3 separate regions of the Homo sapiens genome follow, and regions 1 and 3 are each linked to region 2. The links are contacts of gene promoters, found by promoter capture Hi-C in blood cells and fetal thymus (Javierre and others, 2016). All regions are on one chromosome and are shown on one strand. The core of a region is centred on a gene start or on the middle of the fragment in contact, and the rest is flanking DNA. Distances in the headings are between cores, read along the strand shown.

What was found. The method cuts DNA at HindIII sites, captures the fragments that hold promoters and counts their contacts. A CHiCAGO score of 5 or more calls a contact.
Region 1: the fragment with the promoter of LINC00665 here is called in contact with the fragment with the promoter of ZNF527 in region 2 in 8 of 17 cell types (fetal thymus, total B cells, naive B cells and 5 more); the score reaches 13.7 in fetal thymus.
Region 3: a contact is called between a fragment that was not itself captured here and the fragment with the promoter of ZNF527 in region 2, in 1 of 17 cell types (M2 macrophages). The highest score is 5.1, in M2 macrophages.

The regions. Positions count from the first base shown.
Region 1 is chr19:36,330,341-36,333,044 of GRCh38, reverse strand. It overlaps LINC00665 (long intergenic non-protein coding RNA 665), which reads left to right and starts at 1,327. Exons shown (of 6, transcript NR_038279.1): 1 at 1,327-1,598; 2 at 2,553-2,704. The HindIII fragment of the contact is 13,687 bases long and covers 1,090-2,704 here.
Region 2 is chr19:37,369,679-37,372,503 of GRCh38, reverse strand. It overlaps ZNF527 (zinc finger protein 527), which reads right to left and starts at 1,405. Exons shown (of 5, transcript NM_032453.2): 1 at 1,278-1,405. RefSeq lists a silencer at 1,006-1,315 and enhancers at 1,346-1,655, 1,826-1,875, 1,896-2,035. The HindIII fragment of the contact is 7,295 bases long and covers 1-2,825 here.
Region 3 is chr19:36,235,533-36,238,232 of GRCh38, reverse strand. It overlaps ZNF146 (zinc finger protein 146), which reads right to left. Exons shown (of 4, transcript NM_007145.3): 4 at 1-2,574. The coding sequence starts at 1,792. The coding sequence ends at 914. LOC107985304 (a long non-coding RNA gene) reads left to right here and starts at 2,481. Exons shown (of 2, transcript XR_001753933.3): 1 at 2,481-2,649. It also overlaps a transcript of ZNF565 not described here. RefSeq lists a silencer at 1,659-1,859. The HindIII fragment of the contact is 420 bases long and covers 1,053-1,472 here.

The sequences.
Region 1 (2,704 bases), core at 78-2,577, 1.0 Mb after region 2:
TTCTGCCTTGAGATGCTGTTAATCTGTAACCCTAGCCCCAACCCTGTGCTCACAGAGACATGTGCTGTGTTGACTCAAGGTTCAATGGATTTAGGGCTATGCTTTGTTAAAAAAGTGCTTGAAGATAATATGCTTGTTAAAAGTCATCACCATTCTCTAATCTCAAGTACCCAGGGACACAATACACTGCGGAAGGCCGCAGGGACCTCTGTCTAGGAAAGCCAGGTATTGTCCAAGATTTCTCCCCATGTGATAGCCTGAGATATGGCCTCATGGGAAGGGTAAGACCTGACTGTCCCCCAGCCCGACATCCCCCAGCCCGACACCCGAAAAGGGTCTGTGCTGAGGAGGATTAGTAAAAGAGGAAGGCCTCTTTGCAGTTGAGGTAAGAGGAAGGCATCTGTCTCCTGCTCGTCCCTGGGCAATAGAATGTCTTGGTGTAAAACCCGATTGTATGTTCTACTTACTGAGATAGGAGAAAACATCCTTAGGGCTGGAGGTGAGACACGCTGGCGGCAATACTGCTCTTTAATGCACCGAGATGTTTGTATAAGTGCACATCAAGGCACAGCACCTTTCCTTAAACTTATTTATGACACAGAGACCTTTGTTCACGTTTTCCTGCTGACCCTCTCCCCACTATTACCCTATTGGCCTGCCACATCCCCCTCTCCGAGATGGTAGAGATAATGATCAATAAATACTGAGGGAACTCAGAGACCAGTGTCCCTGTAGGTCCTCCGTGTGCTGAGCGCCGGTCCCTTGGGCTCACTTTTCTTTCTCTATACTTTGTCTCTGTGTCTCTTTCTTTTCTCAGTCTCTCGTTCCACCTGACGAGAAATACCCACAGGTGTGGAGGGGCAGGCCACCCCTTCAATAATTTACTAGCCTGTTCGCTGACAACAAGACTGGTGGTGCAGAAGGTTGGGTCTTGGTGTTCACCGGGTGGCAGGCATGGGCCAGGTGGGAGGGTCTCCAGCGCCTGGTGCAAATCTCCAAGAAAGTGCAGGAAACAGCACCAAGGGTGATTGTAAATTTTGATTTGGCGCGGCAGGTAGCCATTCCAGCGCAAAAATGCGCAGGAAAGCTTTTGCTGTGCTTGTAGGCAGGTAGGCCCCAAGCACTTCTTATTGGCTAATGTGGAGGGAACCTGCACATCCATTGGCTGAAATCTCCGTCTATTTGAGGCTGACTGAGCGCGTTCCTTTCTTCTGTGTTGCCTGGAAACGGACTGTCTGCCTAGTAACATCTGATCACGTTTCCCATTGGCCGCCGTTTCCGGAAGCCCGCCCTCCCATTTCCGGAAGCCTGGCGCAAGGTTGGTCTGCAGGTGGCCTCCAGGTGCAAAGTGGGAAGTGTGAGTCCTCAGTCTTGGGCTATTCGGCCACGTGCCTGCCGGACATGGGACGCTGGAGGGTCAGCAGCGTGGAGTCCTGGCCTTTTGCGTCCACGGGTGGGAAATTGGCCATTGCCACGGCGGGAACTGGGACTCAGGCTGCCCCCCGGCCGTTTCTCATCCGTCCACCGGACTCGTGGGCGCTCGCACTGGCGCTGATGTAGTTTCCTGACCTCTGACCCGTATTGTCTCCAGATTAAAGGTAAAAACGGGGCTTTTTCAGCCCACTCGGGTAAAACGCCTTTTGATTTCTAGGCAGGTGTTTTGTTGCACGCCTGGGAGGGAGTGACCCGCAGGTTGAGGTTTATTAAAATACATTCCTGGTTTATGTTATGTTTATAATAAAGCACCCCAACCTTTACAAAATCTCACTTTTTGCCAGTTGTATTATTTAGTGGACTGTCTCTGATAAGGACAGCCAGTTAAAATGGAATTTTGTTGTTGCTAATTAAACCAATTTTTAGTTTTGGTGTTTGTCCTAATAGCAACAACTTCTCAGGCTTTATAAAACCATATTTCTTGGGGGAAATTTCTGTGTAAGGCACAGCGAGTTAGTTTGGAATTGTTTTAAAGGAAGTAAGTTCCTGGTTTTGATATCTTAGTAGTGTAATGCCCAACCTGGTTTTTACTAACCCTGTTTTTAGACTCTCCCTTTCCTTAAATCACCTAGCCTTGTTTCCACCTGAATTGACTCTCCCTTAGCTAAGAGCGCCAGATGGACTCCATCTTGGCTCTTTCACTGGCAGCCCCTTCCTCAAGGACTTAACTTGTGCAAGCTGACTCCCAGCACATCCAAGAATGCAATTAACTGTTAAGATACTGTGGCAAGCTATATCCGCAGTTCCGAGGAATTCATCCGATTGATTATGCCCAAAAGCCCCGCGTCTATCACCTTGTAATAATCTTAAAGCCCCTGCACCTGGAACTATTAACTTTCCTGTAACCATTTATCCTTTTAACTTTTTTGCTTACTTTATTTCTGTAAAATTGTTTTAACTAGACCTCCCCTCCCCTTTCTAAACCAAAGTATAAAAGAAGATCTAGCCCCTTCTTCAGAGCGGAGAGAATTTTGAGCATTAGCCATCTCTTGGCGGCCAGCTAAATAAATGGACTTTTAATTTGTCTCAAAGTGTGGCGTTTTCTCTAACTCGCTCAGGTACGACATTTGGAGGCCCCAGCGAGAAACGTCACCGGGAGAAACGTCACCGGGCGAGAGCCGGGCCCGCTGTGTGCTCCCCCGGAAGGACAGCCAGCTTGTAGGGGGGAGTGCCACCTGAAAAAAAAATTTCCAGGTCCCCAAAGGGTGAC
Region 2 (2,825 bases), core at 156-2,655:
AAGACTCTGTCTCAAAAAAAAAAAAAAAAAAAAAAAGAAAAGAAAAGAAAAGAAAAGAAAGGGACAACTGTGGTTGACCTAGAATTCAGTATACATCACCCCCTAATTTCACCCCCTAATTCTGGACTACTTTGCACTAGGCAACTCAGTCCCTAGCAGTTATTTCCTTAGTGTAGTGCAGCTTGAAATTGTCCATAAAAACTGCAGCAGGGCGCAGCGCCTCACGCCTGTAATCCCAGCACTGTGGGAGGCTCTGGTGGGCGGATCATGAGGTCAGGAGTTGGAGACCAGCCTGGCCAAACATGGTGAAACCTCGTCTCTACTAAAAATACAAAAACTAGCTGGGCGTGGTGGTGCGCGCCTGTAATCCCAGCTACTTGGGAGGCTGAGGCAGGAGAATCACTTGAACCTGGGAGGCGGAGGTTGCAGTGAGCCGAGATCGCATCATTGCACTCCAGCCTGGGCAATAGAGTGAGACTCCATCTCAAGAGAAAAAAAAAAAAAAAAGCGAGACCTCTAGAGCTAAACTGCTTGGGTTTGAGTTCTGGTGCTGTCACTTGTTAACTGTGTGAACTTGGGTAATTCTAATATTTCTGTGCTTCATACATCAATCCCACAATCTCATATATACACACAAATTCTCACCCAATCACAAATGTATAGAGTCACACAAACACACCCATAATCTCACACAATACACAGCCACATAAGCACAAAGATAGATGGTAACATACAACTACACCAACAGAGATAAACAATCACACACAATCACACACAAAGTAGCATACCACAGAAGTCACACATCTTGTCACAATTACTGATACAAAACTATACCTGCGGAGACAGATGGTCATAGTCGCACAATCACACTTGCTGTCACACACATTCAAACGCAATTGTATCCGCAGAAACAGGTGGTCACATAACCACACACATGCATTTACACAAACACACAATGTCACACCCCAGTCTCTCATAAACACATACACAGCTACACCTGCAGAGACAGTCACACACAAACACACATATTCACAGTTTCACCCCCAGACACAGATGGTTACAGTCACACACAAGCGGGCGCACGCGCACAAACACACACACACAGTGACACAAGATCACATTCTGTCACACCCGCAGCCTGTCACATAGTTGGTAATACAGTGAAACACACACGGCCTCCCCAGCGACTCCTGCCGGGTTCCCATCCCTGGCGCGGCCGGGCCACCCGGAGCCCGCCCTTGACTTCCCGCTCCCGCCCGGGGCCCGGCCCCACTCACCTCCCGGCGCCGCGGGCTCTGCAAACGGGCCCCGCGACCGAGACCCGCGACGTCACCTCCCAGAATCCTCCGCGAGGAGGAGCGAGGCGAGGACTGAGGCATGCAGGACTCTGAGCTCTGCGAGATCTGAACCAGCGACACCGCGTTCCCCATGGACCCCGCGAACCACGAGCCCCAGAACGCTTTGCGCCACGGCCGTCATCGTTGAACTACATCTCCCAGAGAACCCCGCGGCCCCCTCCACTGCGCGCCTGCGCCACGGGGGCAGGTACCGGAGAGGGCTGTGTGCGGTCGTAGGCTCTCCAGTGACCTTGAGCTGCTGTGTTGGGGAAAGCGGCCAGGCTGCGCGCGGGGCTGACTGGTTGAATGCTTGGGTGTGGTGGTTCGTGTGTGACTGTTGCTGCACACCTTTATGCTTGCCGACGAAAGGAGCGGCGGATTTTGTCAGTGCAGGGAGCTTCTGTATTTTAAATCACGTCCCGTGATTGTGGGTAGCTGAATGTGAAAGTGATTGTGGATGAAAGAGACTGTGGCTGACATTGGGGGTGACCGTTTCTGTTACTGTGAGGATACCACTGATCCGATGTGTATCTGACTGTCTCCTGGTCTTACTGTTCCTTCACCCCCATCTCCTGCCATGGGCGGGGTCTGTGGTATCTTTTATTGAGGCAATCTCGGCGCTCACTGCAACCTCCGCCTCCCGGGTTCAAGCGATTCTCTTGCCTCAGCCTCCTGAGGAGCTGGGATTACAGGCACCTGCCACCACGCCCAGCTAATTTTTGTATTTTTAGTAGGGATGGGGTTTCACCATGTTGGCCAGGATGGTCTTCATCTCCTGAACTTGTGATCCACCTGCCTCGGCCTCCCCAAGTGCTGGGGTTACAGGCATGAGCCATCGCACCCGGCCTATTTTATTATTATTATTATTTCTCAATTGGTCAAAATAATATATTTAACATTTTAATATTATTAAACATACAAAAGGCCACACTTTGGCCCTCCTCTAGTCAAGCAGTTTCCTTCCTGGTGAAAGTCCATAGGCAGAAACATGCCTGCAAAGATCTCACAACCTTCTTTCAGACCATGCTCTGGGTATCCAAATCCCCAGGATTTCCTGTTCAAATGGACTCCAGCCTGCTTCCAGAGCCTGTATCTCCTCTGTGTCCAAAGACCCTTCCCTTGATCTGTCTTCCAAAGGTGGAATGTGCTGCCTATCCACAAAATGTGGCCAAATGAGAGCAATTTGGTAAGGCTAGACAGAGCTTAGATATGCAAGCTGGAGTGTCCACATGTGGGAATAGAAGACCTCTTACGATGTGGGACAAGGATGGCAGTGGGAACAGAAGGGGACTGGCTGGGGACCTCCATCTGTACTGTTGACCCAGGTCTCTACATGTCAATGACAGGCTCATTTATGTATAAACTATTTTGGAGACCAATGGTCTTATGATGATGGTGGTTTGAATTAGGGTCATCACTGGAAGAGGCAATGAGAAATTGTCAGATTGGGATACAGTTTGAGTGTAGAACTAACAGAAGTTGCTGATG
Region 3 (2,700 bases), core at 13-2,512, 1.1 Mb after region 2:
ACTATCTGTATCATTCTGCAACTTGATCCCCCCTCAACAATTCTGGGATCTTTCTGTTAATACATGTGGATTTCATTTGTTGCATTTTACAGATATATAGTATTACATAAGAATTTCCCATATTGTTCGTGATGGGCTTTCTCAGTTGTTTCTAATTTTTGGCTACTACAAATCAAGCCACAGTAAATATCCTAGTGCGTATTTCCTGAGCATTCATACTCATAAGTAGAACCGCTAAGTATTTCTCAAATTGTTCCAAGGAATGTTTCCCTATTCCCAAGGTCATATGCATTTTAGTACATAGCTTTTCCATATTTCTGTTTTTAATCTCTGGATTCACTTTTGTGTATAGTTCATGGTCTATTTTTCCCCCTTGGAGAACAAACTACCTCCACTTAAAAAAAATAGTTCCATTATTTCCTCATTTCCTGATGCCACTTGTATCATATTCCAAATTCTAATAAATGCATAGGTCTTTTTTTGAAATCTCTTCTGCTCTGCTCAATCAATACCACAGGAGTCTTAATATTAGTTGTAGATGACCATGTCATCTATTTTTGTCTGTTCCTTTCCAATATTTACAACTTAATTTTTCTTGTTACTGGCGAAGATCTCCAGATCTATGGTGGTAGCAATAAAAAACAGGCCTCCATTTTCTGTTCCCACTTTTAGTGAAAATGTGCCTAAACTTTCACCATTATCTCTGCTGCAGGTTTCTCTGTTGGACACAGGGTTTTAATCATATGCATGTCTTTCTCTTCAGTACAAATTTTCTGGTGTCCCTTAAGTTTTTAGTACTTGTTAAAGTTAACCTCATTCGTGGTGCTTTGCTTCAGAAGGATTATTTCTGGGGCATGATGAGGTGCAAATTTCTAATGAAAGCTTTCCCACTTTCAAGGCTTTCATGGGGTTTTTAGTGAGTATGAATTTTCTGGTGTCTAATGTGGTGTGACTTCTGGCTGAAAGCTTTCCCACATTCACTGCACTGATAAGGCTTCTTACCTGTGTGTATTCTCAAATGCAGAGCAAGGGTTGAGAACTGAGAGAAAGCTTTCCCACATTCATTACAACCATAGGGCTTCTCCCCTGTATGGCTTCTCACATGCACAGTGAGAGATGAGCTCTGAGAGAAGGCTTTTCCACAAACATTGCATTCGTAAGGTTTATCACCTGAATGAATCCTCACATGTACAATAAGTGATGTTCGCTGAGAGAAGGCTTTTCCACATTCGTTACATTCATAGGGTTTCTCTCCAGTGTGAATGTTCTGATGTTTTATGAGGTACTTCTTCTGGCCAAAGGCTGTTCCACATTCACTACATTTAAAAGGCTTCTCTCCAATATGGATTTTCTCATGCTCAGTAAGGTTGGATTTGCCACTGAAGGTTTTTCCACACTCCTTACATACAAAGGGCTTCTCTCCTGTGTGAGTTCTCTGGTGTCTGATGAGGTTTGACTTCTGAATGAAAGCTTTCCCGCAATCTTTACACTCAAAAGGTTTTTCTCCAGTGTGAATTTTCTGGTGCGTAAGGAGGTTTTCCTTCTGGCTAAATGATTTTCCACATTCATTACATTCGAAAAGCTTCTCGCCAGTATGGGTGTTCTGATGTTTAATGACATACTGCTTTTGGCTAAAGGCTTTTCCACACTCGTTACATTCAAAAGGTTTCTCTCTCGTGTGAAAATGCTCATGCTCAGTGAGGTTTGATTTGTGGCTGAAGACTTTTCCACATACCTTACAGGCAAAGGGGTTTTCCCCACTGTAAATTCTCTGCTGGCTGAGGTGTGACATCTGAATGGAAGCTTTCCCACATTCACAAGGTTTCTCTCCAGTAAAAATTTCTTGATGAGTGAGGATTTACTTTTGGCTGAAGATATTTCCACATCTCTTACATTTATAAGGCTTCTCTGTGTATGATCTCCCAAATGCAGAGTAAGGGATAAGGTTTGAGAGGAAATGTTATCATACTCAGTATATTCAATGCTTTCTCTCTAGAAAAATTTTCTAATATTCAATGAAGTATTGCTACCTTCACTAGTTTCTCTCCAGCATGAATTTTCTGCTTCTCAATGAGATTGTCATCTAGCTAAGGGCTTGTCAATACTCCTTAGAAGCACAGGGTTTCTCTTCAGCATGACTTGCACGTTCGACGAAATGCAACATATGAGTAACAGTTCCCCCACATTCAGTAAATTCATAGGGTTTCTCTCCAGTATGAACACTCTGGTAACAGATGAGGTACAAACGTTTTAAACCAAAGACATTTACACTTAAAGGGGGTTAATACCATAAGGAGTAAGCTGTGGTAGAGAAGCTCCCAACTAAGTCCCTTGATGATTCTTTCCTACACAACCTCCCTCATGATTTCAGTCCAGGTTGTGTTTCAAACTGAAAACTTCAAAAAGGTGTGGCCTTAAAACAAATACGATCTGAGAACAGAGGAAGTATTTTTTCTTATATTCAACGCTCTTTTTCTCAGTCTTTCCTGGAGATGGATCAACATGCCTCCCAAGTCCTGGTGCCTCTCAAGTCCTGGTGCCTCTCTATCTGTGCATCATCTTCTCAGGCTTCTTCTAAAATGGAGTACAAAGAACCATAGCACAAAGGAGTTAAATTCATAAAGTGCCCAGAACCATGGCTGCCATATGGTAAGCCCTTCATTTTACCTTTATATTACTATCACTTTTATTTGTTAATTT